2 separate regions of the Homo sapiens genome follow, and region 1 is linked to region 2. Evidence: promoter capture Hi-C in 16 types of primary human blood cells and fetal thymus (Javierre and others, 2016). All regions are on one chromosome and are shown on one strand. The core of a region is centred on a gene start or on the middle of the fragment in contact, and the rest is flanking DNA. Distances in the headings are between cores, read along the strand shown. Region 1 has its middle 8.9 kb from the start of TMPRSS6. Region 2 holds the start of MFNG (MFNG O-fucosylpeptide 3-beta-N-acetylglucosaminyltransferase).

What was found. Contacts are between HindIII fragments. The CHiCAGO score rates a contact against its expected background, and 5 or more counts as called.
Region 1: a fragment that was not itself captured here is called in contact with the fragment with the promoter of MFNG in region 2 in 1 of 17 cell types (non-activated CD4 T cells); the score reaches 5.6 in non-activated CD4 T cells.

The regions. Positions count from the first base shown.
Region 1 is chr22:37,115,712-37,121,501 of GRCh38, reverse strand. No RefSeq gene overlaps it. Among named protein-coding and RNA genes, the nearest start is that of TMPRSS6, 8.9 kb to the right of the region's middle. The HindIII fragment of the contact is 4,309 bases long and covers 1-4,257 here.
Region 2 is chr22:37,483,787-37,489,621 of GRCh38, reverse strand. It overlaps MFNG (MFNG O-fucosylpeptide 3-beta-N-acetylglucosaminyltransferase), which reads left to right and starts at 3,238. Exons shown (of 8, transcript NM_002405.4): 1 at 3,238-3,699. The coding sequence starts at 3,445. RefSeq lists enhancers at 1,836-2,345, 2,346-2,857, 2,858-3,367, 3,844-3,893, 4,294-4,353 and 2 more and a silencer at 3,144-3,273. The HindIII fragment of the contact is 3,313 bases long and covers 2,857-5,835 here.

The DNA of each region.
Region 1 (5,790 bases), core at 854-3,353, 370 kb after region 2:
GTGAGGATGAAAGAAATAATTGAATGTGGCAGGGTGCTGTGGCTTGCACCTGTAATCCAGCACTTAGGGAGGTCCAGGTGGGAGGATCCCTTGAGCCCAGGAGTCCAAGACCAGCCTGGCTAACATGGTGAGACCCTGTGTCTACAAAAAATATATACAGAAAATTAGCCGGGCATGGTGGTACATACGTGTAGTCCTAGCTACTAGGGAGGCCGAGGTGGGAAGATCCCTTGAGCATAGGAGATTGAGGCTGCAGTGAGCATTGATCGTGCCACTGCACTCCAGCCTGGGCAACAGAGTGAGGCCCTGTTACAAAAAAAGAAGTAAGTTAATGTAAAGTACTTAGGAGAGAAGAGCTAGCCGTGGGAGAGACAGACAGAGACAGGGCTGTGACCAGGGCAGCCAGGGGCCAGAGATGTGGAAGCTGCTGACTTGCTGGCTGGCCTTTTGGATACTCTGTTGCTGTGTTGGTGATGGCTGTTTGGGGCAGGGGATGAGCTGGACACCTGCAGGCTTGGTGTCTCCTGCCACCTCCCTGCCCTTTCCAACCTCCTAATCCTGACAGCTCATCTCCCTCAAGCACCTGGGTAGGTCTTGGGGGATGATGGTTTGAGATAAGGCCCAAATCTATGATGACAAGATTCTAGGAGGTGTGACAAATGCTGAAGGAAACCTATGAGGTCTTCTTCCTACCTCTCAAATCCAGCCGTGCTGGCTGCCACCCGCCTAGCTCAGGGCCGAGGACATTTTGTCCCTCCCAATTCTGTACCACTTGGCCCCTTTGAGCCTCAGTCTCTTCATCTAAAATGGGGTGAAGAAGTGAAATTTCAAAGGCCGGGTGCGGTAGCTCACTCCTGTAATCCCAGCACTTTGGGAGGCCAAGGTGGGTGGATCACCTGAGGTCAGGAGTTTGAGACCGGCCTGACCAACATGGTGAAACCCCATCTCTACTAAAAATACAAAAAAATTAGCTGGGCATGGTGGCCTGCGCCTGTAGCCCCATCTACTCAGGAAGCTGAGACAGGAGAATCACTTGAACCCAGGAGGCGGAGGCTGCAGTGAGCTGAGATCGCGCCACTGCACTCCAGCCTGGACAACAGAGTGAGACTCTGTCTCAAAAAAAAAAAAAGAAAAAAAAAAAAGATAGCCCACCCTGTGCCCAGTAACTACTGCTCATTCATTCTAATCTATTTATTGAGCTTCTACTATGTGCACTGGACTGTTCAAATTGGACATTTCGGTTTGAGAGAGCTCGGGTTGCTTGGAACGGGCTTGATGGTGGGTGGCTGGCCGTCCCCGGCCAACGGTCCAGTGATTCTCGTAACAGTGGGTGTAGGAGAGCACCCGTTACACTGTCAGTCCGAGCAATCAGCCAGGAACGGTACATGTTGGCGAGAGAATTCTATTGCTTGTAATTTATGCAAATATGAAACTAACAATGAAACCTTTGCTGCTGGGATCCCAAACTCAGATGCTGACAGGGACTGGGGTTTGGGTAGATATTAGCTGCAGTGATGAAATGCTGATGGTGTACACCCAGTAGATGCGGGCCCCGTTCTAAGTTCCTCACACAGGTTCTGTCAATCTTCACAACACTTAGGCTTACTGTCTCATTTTCTATATGAGGAAATGAAGGCCCAGTAAAATCAAATACCTTGTAGCTCAAGGGCATGTGGCCAAATAAGTGGTGGAGCCAGGACTCAAACTCAGGCTCCTGACTCTAGTAACTCTTTTTAACCCATGCAGTGTGATACAATAGGGAGTGGTGAGGTCTGTGTCAAACCGAAATTGCTCCAGGGCAGCCATCGCTGATTGTTGCCATGTTGGGGATCAGCTAGGTCATCTACTTTTTTTTTTTTTTTTAAGACAGAGTTTCACTCTTGTTGCCTAGGCTGGAGTGCAATGGCGTGATCTCAGCTCACCGCAACCTCAGCCTCCCGGGTTCAAGCGATTCTCCTGCCTCAGCCTCCCGAGTAGCTGAAACTACAGGCACGCACCACCACGCCTGGCGAATTTTGTATTTTCAGTAGAGACGGGGTTTCTCCACGTTGGTCAGGCTGGTCTTGAATTCCCGACCTCAGGTGATCCGCCCGCCTCCACCTCCCAAAGTGCTGGGATTACAGGCCTGAGCCACTGCGCAGGCCTGATCTTCTACATTTTTAAGAGAAGCTGAAAATTCAGTTTTTCCTGCAAAGTGTCCTTATTTTTAAATATTGGCCACTCATCTTTTAAAAACAGAAAACAAGCAAGCCAAGCAAAATGTGTCTGCACGGTAGAGAGGGAGGGAGAAAGGAAGAGCATCCTGCGGGATTTATTGTAAAGATCACTTCTTCCTGACCCCAGGTGTGCTGGCTGCTCCGTGCCCCCACCCCCTGCTTGCTGAGCTCAGCTGCAACTCTCTCCAGTTAACGATCCTCGATCCTCCGTGATCCATCCATTATTGAATCCCAGCACCTGCCACAGGTTGTTCGTTGAATGGATGTGTAGGTTGGTAAATGGGCAAAGGGGAGGAGGGAAAAAGGAAAAGGAGAAAGGAAGGAAGGAAAGGTGGGAGGGGAAGTTACTTAGAGGCTTTGAAAACCTGGAATGACCAAGGTTCTGAGAAACCAACGTGGAGGGAAGAGGCAACAGAGCCGACTGGTATCAGGAGCTCTCTCGGGCCCACCAAGTCAACAGCTGTCTGACACAGATGACCAAGGAGAATAGAGGTACTCGGGGAACCTGAGTGAGTGCTGGGGTCTTCCCATGAAAGGGCAGCAGGAAAGAGCCTCCTTGGGGAAATTTAGGTGTCTGTGACCTTGGACAGGGCCCCCTTCAAGGGCAAGAGCTAGTCCCACAAACCGGACTGTCTTTAGAGGAGGCTCTGCCTGCAATGTTTTGAGGCAAAAAAAAAAAAAAAAAAAAAAAAGTTGAAAATTGCAATTTTGTGTCCTTTGGAAATTTTTGTTGACTCTCTGCCTAAAGCCTTATGTATATGGAAATAAGTAATATTGTTCTTTTGTTTTAGTTTTTAGAATTCATTTTTGGACAGTATACTGGGAAGAGTACAGGCTGGGAATCAGGTCACCTGGGTTCCAGTCCCAGCCCTGCCTCAGCATTGCTGTGCAACCTTGGGTAGTCTCCACCCACTCTCTGGGTCTGGCTCCCTGATGTGGTTTGGCTGTGTCCCCACCCAAATCTCATTTCAAATTGTAGCTTCCATCATCCCCACGTGTAGTGGGAAGGACCAGGTGGGAGGTAATTGAATCATGGGGGCAGGTTTTTCCCATGCCGTTCTTGTGATAGTGAATAAGTCTCATGAGCTCTAATGGTTTTGTAAAGGACAGTTCCCCTGCACACACTCTTGCCCGCCACCATGTAAGACGTGCCCTTACTCCTCCTTTGCCTTCTGCCATGATTTTGAGGCCTCCGCAGCCATGTGGAACTGTGAGGCCATTAAACCTCTTTTTCTTTATAAATTACCCAGTCTTGGGTATTTTTTCATAACAGCATGAAAATGGACTAATATAGTCCCCCTATCTGTTCTGGGAGCCCCACCTGCTACAATCCCACAGTGGAGGAGAAGGTCAGGCTGAGTGATGCATGCAGAGTTTCCATTCTGTGTCCCCAAGGTGGCTTGAAGCAGCCCCTCCCAAACCCCAAACCCCTGATCAGCATCTGTACCCCGACTGCCCATCTGGGAAAGAAGCGACTGGGCATGCCAGGGCCTGGTGGTGAGTTTGTCCTAGCAGCATCTTCAGACAGAGGCCAGAGGCCAGGACCCAGGGCTGAGACAGAGGCCGAGGGCTCAGGAGTGGTGGTGTGGGCAGTGGGAAGGAACACAGAGACAGGAGAAGGTGTCACTGGGAAGGACAACTGGCTCTGAAGCCAGAGGGTCCTGGGTTTGAATCCAGCTCCTAGCACTTCCTGACTGTGTGACATCAAGCAAATCACTGCTCTGAAACTCCACTTTCTCACCTCAGATGGGTGAAGTGACCATTTTTCTTATTGGAGATCAGGCCTATCCTGGGTCTGGTTAGCTGTATTGTAAGCCATAGATTATTCTAAGCCTTAGGATCCTTAAATCCCTGTACAGATGGAGGAAGACAAGCCACAGAGATGGGGACTCCTGAGAGGTCCCACACCTGTTGGTGACAGGCCATTCTGGTGGATTCTTATTCCTCCAAGCACATAAGAAGCATCTCCATGTACTGCTGAGGGTCCTGTCCTCCACCGGGTGCTGTCACGTGGTGGGCGGGGCCAAGTGCCTGCCAAGCTTCTGTCCCACTGTCTGTTTCCCTAGGCTTGGCAGCTTTCTTCAAGGGCAGCAACTGAGACTTGTTCTATTTCTTTTACATCTTTGTTCTTGTTCTTTCTTTTTTCTTTTTTTGAGATGGAGTCTTGCTCTGTCGTCTAGGCTGGAGTGCAGTGGTGGATTTCGGCTCACTGCAACCTCTGCCTCCTAGGTTCAAGAGATTCTCCTGCCTCAGCCTCCCGAGTAGCTGGGACTATAGGCGCCTGCCACCACTCCCAGCTAATTTTTTTGTATGTTTAGTAGAGATGGAGTTTCACTGTGTTAGCCAGGATGGTCTTGATCTCCTGACCTCGTAATCCACCTGCCTCGGCCTCCCAAAGTGCTGGGATTACAGGCGTGAGCCACTGCGCCCGGCCCCCCTCTCTTTTTATTCTTATCTAAAATCAAAGTGTTGGCAGGCTCATTCTCTCCCTGAAGGCTCTAGAAAAAAAATCTTCCTTGCTGCTTCCTAACCTCCTTACATTTTTATTTTTTTAGAGACAGGGTCTTGCCCAGGTTGGAGTGCAGTGGCAGGAGCATGGCTCACTGCAGCCTCAACTTCTTGGGCTCAAGTGATCCTCTCCCCTCAGCCTCCCGAGTAGTTGGGACTACAGGTACATGCTGCCACACTTGGCTAATGTTTGTATTTTTGTAGAGGCTGGGTCTTGCTATGTTGCCCAGGCTGATCTTGAACTCCTGGGCTCAAATATTCCTCCCACCTTGGCCTCCCAAAGTGCTGGGATTACAGGCATGAGCCACCTTGCCCAGACTCCTTATCCTTTTTATGTTATTTTTCTTGTTCTCTTTTGTGGCTGTGTTGAGGCTCAACACCAATCAAATGAACGAACAAGTGAATTGCAGTAGGGACACCGTGCATTGGAAAGAGATGGCAGAGGTGGCCTCTGGGGACCCTGCCTAGGTGGCCTCAGAAAAGTTGCATCTATTGAGCAGTTCAGGCTTTAGAGGCCTGTGGGAGGTGGAAGGAAGCAGGTCATAACTGTGATTTTGGGGGAGGAGAGTAAGATGGTGGTAGCTCAGGTGTAGGGAGAGGACACACTTCAGAAGTGACTTGAGGACTCATGGTCATGTGGAACCTTTGGGACACTTGTCCACAGCATTGTCAACAGCCAGCCTGCCCCTGCCTGCCTCACCCTGCTTAATATGGGCTGGATTGTGTCACCCCAAAAGATACATTGAAGGCCTGACCCTTTAACCTATGAATGTGACCTCATTTGGAAATAGGGTCTTTGCAGATGTGAAGAAGATGAAGTCCTTAGGGTGGACCCTAATCCAGCATGGCTGGTGTCCTTTAAAGCAGAGGAGAAGAGGCATGGAGCCACGCACAGGGAGAAAGCCATGAGATGGCAGAGGCAGAGTTTGGAGTGACGCTGTCACAAGCCAAGGCACACCAGGGATCGCCAGCAACCACCAAAGCCAGGAAGAGGCAAGAAAGACCCTCCCTTGGAGACTTCAGGGAGGGCGTGTGGCCCTGCTGCCACCTTGAGTTTGGACTGCCC
Region 2 (5,835 bases), core at 1,989-4,488:
CTCAGGATGTGGGAGCAGGGCTATGGGAGCTCTGGTTTGGAGTTGACTTAGAGAGGGCTGAGGCCAATTGGAGTAGGGGGTGGGGGGCAGGGGCAGTGGAGGAGAGAGGAGCAGACAGGAAGGAGGGGATCTGTGGCCTCCAGGGGTGGGTCTGGATCTCCATGTTTGACAAGAAAAATGCTTAAGAAGGGGTCAGGGCTGGGGATTTGGGGTGGTGGGTGGAGAAGGGAATGGAGAAGCTGGGAGAGGGGATTGGGGTGTGGATCAGGGGGCCACAGCCCCATCTTTAGTGGGAAGAGACAAGGAGTGGGTGTAGGGGAGAGGTGGTGAGGGTCTCAGAGACTGGACCACGCAGGATGACGGTGCTTGGGTATGAGGCCAGGGTGGACGGTGGGCCCAGGCTGTCCCGGGAACCCAGAGAGGCTTTCCCAGGATGGAGTGCAGGGTGCGCAGGGCACTGTAGTTTGGTTGAAACCCAAAGCTCTGGTCAGCCAGGAGACCCTGGCAACTCGGGTGGCCTCTCTGGGCCCAGGGCCCTCCCCTGTGGAGTGGAGGCCCGGATGGTGGAGTGAGCATGGAGGTACGGATTGGCCACGGCTAGGTGAGCACGTGTGGCTGGGGCTGAGCCATTGCTTGGGAAAAGGTCTTCCCACTCTCTACGACAGGGTGTCTTTGACAAGGTGCAGATTGGACTTGGAGGCCTGCCAGTCTGTCACCACTGGGGTAGGGGCTGGGGAGCTGGACCCTGAGTGGCAAAGGCGGTGCCCTGGGGGAAGGGCAGCCTCCCTGCATGGGAATCAGCGGCAATGCCGCTTTCTACTCCAGGCCTTCCCAGGTGTTGACTCTCCCATCCCCCCAGCCACATCCTCCCCACCGCGGGCAGTGGCAGTGGCCTTTCAGTTTACCCTTAGCTGTGCTCCTCTGCTCATGTGGCCCCTGCCTGGGCTGCTCTCCCTGCCTGAATCTTCCTGATCTTTGAAGCCTGGCTGAGATATTACGTATCTCCATGAAACCCACCACCAGGTCCTCCCAGCCCTTGGGACTTCTCCTGGCCCATGCCATATTCTGCCTTGTGGTGGGACGAGGGTGTCTGTGTGGCTGTCTCTCGATGTCTGTGGCTTCCTGGGCATGGAAACTGGGCTGTGTGCATTTGGGTACATGAACCTCCCCCTGCCCCACAGTGAGCCTGGCCCAGTGCTTGGCCTGGGGAAAGGCAGGGGCCTGTGACTTGGCTGCCTTTGCCTGTTCCCCGTGTCAAGCATCCTTTCTGTGGGGTGGAGAAGCCCACTCATCCTGTAATCGTCACCAAGTCATATTTTTGTCCCCATTTTAGAAATGATGAAGGTAACTTTCCTAGAGTCATACAGCCAGTGAGTGGCCCAGTTGGGAATTTTTTTTTTTGAGATGGAGTTTCACTCTTGTTGCCTAGGCTGGAGTGCAATGGCGCCATCTCGGCTCACTGCAACCTCTGCCTCCCGGGTTCAAGTGATTCTCCTGCCTCAGCCTCCCTAGTAGCTGGGATTACAGGTGCCTGCCACAATGCCTAGCTAATTTTTGTATTTTTGGTAGAGACGGGGTTTCACCATGTTGGCCAGGCTGGTCTTGAACTCCTGACCTCAAGTGATCTGCCTGCCTTGGCCTCCCAAAGTGCTGGGAGTACAGGCGTGAGCCATGGCGCCCAGCCCCCAGTCAGGATTTAAACCTGGTCTGTGGGGTACAGAGTCTGGGATCATCACCAAGGCTGGCATCATCACCATTCTGAGAATATGGCCTGTGAAGGGGCCTGGCTGGGGGCTGGCCCATGAGAAGGTCATTCAAAGGGTTGGTTTTCCCTTCCTCTCCCCCAGCTGTCCTCATGCAGGGTTGAGCCCGGCAGGGCCACTTCCCTTTGCCAGCCACCTGGTACTTTGTTGTGTTGAATTAACATTGATTGAGTTCTTGTCTGCCGGTCACTGTTCTAGGCACTGGGGATTAGGGACTCAGTGATCAAAAAATAAATCCTGCCCTGATATTCTCATGAGGAGGACAGAAACTTAGTTAAACATACAGAATGTTGGAAGATGAAAAGTGTGATGAAGAAAACAGTGAAGTGGCTTGAGAGGGACAGGCCTGGGGGGCTGGGAAGGAGGCGGCGAGGGGTTGCAATGTTAATAACGTGGTCAGGGAAGGCCTCACAGAGACGGTGACCTTTGTGTAAAGACCAGAAGGGAGTGGGGGAGTGAGACGTGCAGGTCTCTAGGGAGGGGCCCAGGTGGGAACAGCAAGTGCCAAGGTCCTGTGGCGGCCAGGTGCCTGGGCCAGCGAGGGTCCCAGGTTCTGGAGTGGAGCAGGGTGAGTAGCAGGAGATGGGGTGGGAGTAACTTGGGAGCCAGCTCACGCAGGGCCTTGTGGGCTGCTGTGTGCGTTTTGGCTTTTGTTCTGAAGAAAATGGGAGCCAGTGCAGGCTCTGAGTGGAGGAGGGAGGAGGTGTGAGTGAGCTTGTGCGAAACAAGATGGAGGTGGTGGCTGGAGAAGGCCCTCTGTCTGTCCACTGGTCAGGTGCTGGGAGAGAGGCAGCTCCAGAGACTGCGGAGTGAGGTCGGGTATGGGCTGGGGCACAGCTGGACAGGTGCCCTCAGGGGACCTCCTGTGAACTAGATGAGGAACAGAGACCTGGGTTCTGCCAGCTCTGCGGCTGAGTTGCTGGATCGTTTTTGCTCATTCTGTGCCTTTGTGCCTTATGTCTTCAGCTATAAACTGGGAACGACAGTCCCAGTGCTGTTGTGAAGACCTCAGGAACTGAGCGAACAACTGTGGGAGCCCCAGAGGTTAAGAGGTTATCACGGAAGGCTTCCTGGAGGAGGGAACCCTTAAGCTTTGAAGTCCAGATAGAACTCAGCCTAGTGGAGGGAATGTGGGTGAGGCTGGTGGAATATGGGAGAGCATCCCGGAGGAAACCTGTGAGCAAAAGCTGGGGGCTGGGTGAAGCAGGACACCAAAGTAATGGGTGTTGAATGGGCCGAGCTGACAGCTCTCTGGGGGAGTGGACGGTGCTGGAGGACACTCCCTTCCACCGGGCACGGAGGGTTTGTTGTGACTTCCTCCCACCGCAGCAGCTGGCAGAGCCGGGGCTGCCCTTTCTGCTGGTGCCTCCTTTCAGCCGCCTCTGTCTGGGGTTCCCTTCGTCTGGCCCCGCCCCTCGGGCTAAGCGGGGCGGGGCCAGGCGGTCCCGGAGGCTGCGGCAGGCCGGACAGCGGGAGCAGGTGGAGGACTGGCGGCGGTCGAGATCGTGCTGCCATGGCTCAGCCTCTGGGTCCAGAGCCTCAGCTCCTACCTCTTCCCTCCTTGCCAGCCCCTGATGCCTGCCAGACTTTTGCCTCTGCTGGAGCCCCTGCCTGACCAGCTTCCCCTCCCTGTCTGGTTGGGATTTGGGGGCTGAGCTGTCTGGGGTCCCAGGGCCAACCAATGCAGTGCCGGCTCCCGCGGGGCCTGGCTGGAGCCCTCCTCACCCTCCTGTGCATGGGGCTCCTGTGTCTGCGGTACCACTTGAACCTGTCCCCGCAGCGGGTACAAGGGACCCCCGAGCTGAGCCAGCCGAACCCGGGGCCCCCTAAGCTACAGCTACACGATGTCTTCATTGCAGTGAAGACGACCCGGGCTTTCCACCGCTTGCGCCTGGAGCTGCTGCTTGACACGTGGGTTTCCAGGACCAGGGAACAGGTGACAAGTGGGTGACATTGGGCCCTGGGGGTGGCCCCTGGCCTAAGGGGTTCTCAGAGGCCTTTCTACTGGGCTGGGGTCCCTGACTGCCTCATGGGAGAAGCTGCTCAATACCTGCCTAATCAGGGATCCTCTTCCTCTCTCCTTCTTCCGGGCTTTAGGGGCTGCCTGCGGCCCTGCCCGTGCCCTGTACTGGTCCTGACTCCAGGTGCACCCAGGTCCTACCGCTCCACCACTTTTGGGGGCCAGGCTGGGCCCCTGCTCCAGGCTCCCGGGTCCCTCCTGGGGGTTCTTCTATTCCTAGCCGCTCCCGTGGGGGCTTCGCTCCTAGCCACCCAGGCCCAGCCTGGCATCAGGGGTAATGGTGGGTGTTGGGCAGCTGGGGTGGAGGCCTCCAAGAGGTCCTGACCCAGACCCGTGCCCAGGCCAGGCTGTCCCACCCAGGCCCTAGGTGCTGTCCTGCCCGGGCTCTGAGGGTGGAGGACGGGAGGAGAATGGTGGGGTCTGTTCTTGGGGGAGGCATCCCTTCGGCCTTCCCGATAGCCCCTGCCGCTGTGTCTCTGCTGCCCCGGGTGTGCCGAGGCCGCCATGTCTGGCCTCCTGTGTTGGCTTCCTGCGGACTGCTTCCGAGGGAGGGAAGGAGAGCGCATGCCACGAGGGTGGCGGCTGAGGCAGTGGTGGGCCGGAGGTTGGGGAGGCCTGCCTGGCACGTGGGATTGTGTGTGTGTGTGTGTGTGTGCTCACACGCACGGAGCTGGAGTGTGCTAGATGTGTGTGACAAGAGGCATGTCTGTCACATGGCTGTGCGGCTCCGGCGAGCCAAGTCCCTTCCAGCCCTTTCCCTCCTCGCATCCAGTATCTTCCTTAAGCAAAGTTAGTGATGTCGGTGTTAGGGACCGTTGATGGGGGAGGTGGAGAATGGGTACACACACACACACACACACACACACATCGGTCCCCTCTTTGGCGGCTGGCTCAGTGGGAGGAAGTGACTGAGTCTTTGGAGATAGTCGAGACCTCCTGGAAGACCAAAAGGAGGGGGAGAGGATGGCTGGCAGAGGCCAGGCCCTCCTGGGGAGGGGCACCCTGCCCTGATTTCTGCCCTCGTACTTGGGATTAACTCTTCCCCAGCTGGCCCCCAGCACCTCAGCTCTTCTCTGGGCCCCACACGGCTTCTCATCTTGGGGAGATCCTGGTTCTTCCTGCGGAAGCAGCCAAGGCGGGCCCTCCCGCAGGCCTTCCTGTTTATGCGTCTGTGTACCCGGGAGCGTGGCCTCACGTGGCCCACGGCCCTTTCCTGTCTTATCTCCATCACCGCGGTGGTGCCCTTGCCCCGGATGAGGAAACTGAGGCCAGAGAGAGGAAGTGCTGGCTGGCGTGGTGTCACGCAGAAGGCCTGAGGGGACAGAGCCCAGTGGGACCTAGAACCTTGCTCCTGGTTGGGTGCTTTTCTCCCCTGCTGAGACTTGGGAACCCTGTGAGGACTGGGTCACTGGGCTACAGGAGTCGCTACCCCACGTCTCTCACCCTTTGGCTCACTTCTCTCTGTGACCTCAGCCAAGGCCCTCCCCTTTCGGCCCGCAGTTTCCCCATCTGCACGGGGCAGGAGTGTCTGGACCGGGCCTGAGCTGGTTAACTGCAGCGCTGGGCGCCCGCCTGGCTGGTTAAGGGCGGTCGGGTGGCAGGTGGGCCTTGCGGCAGGGGCCGGGACTCGTGTGCCGGCCTTTGTCCTGGGCTGAGGGGGTGGGCTGGGGGAGGCGGGTTTTGTGCTCAAGGCGAGCCTTTCTCCTCCCTATGGTCCCCTTGTTGGGGGGAGAGGTGGCAGCAGCCCCACCACTCCCCTCCTCTGCAGCAGATGGTCCCCGGCCACCCCTCCCCTGCCCCAGCAGGCTGCGTGTCCCTTTGTTTCCCGCGGCTGCCTGTGAAGTTTTCACCATTGTCAGGTCCCCTCCTTAAACAAGTCAAATGCAGCCCTTGGCTCCAAAGAAACTCTGCCCATCGCTCTGTGCCAACCTTAGGATTCCCAGGGACTGAAAGCGCCAGCCTCACTGCCCTCTCCTGTGCCCCCGCCCCCTCTGGACCTGGACTCCCCTTCCCGGCTCTCTCCCTCACTCTGTTCATGGCTGCTGGTGTTTT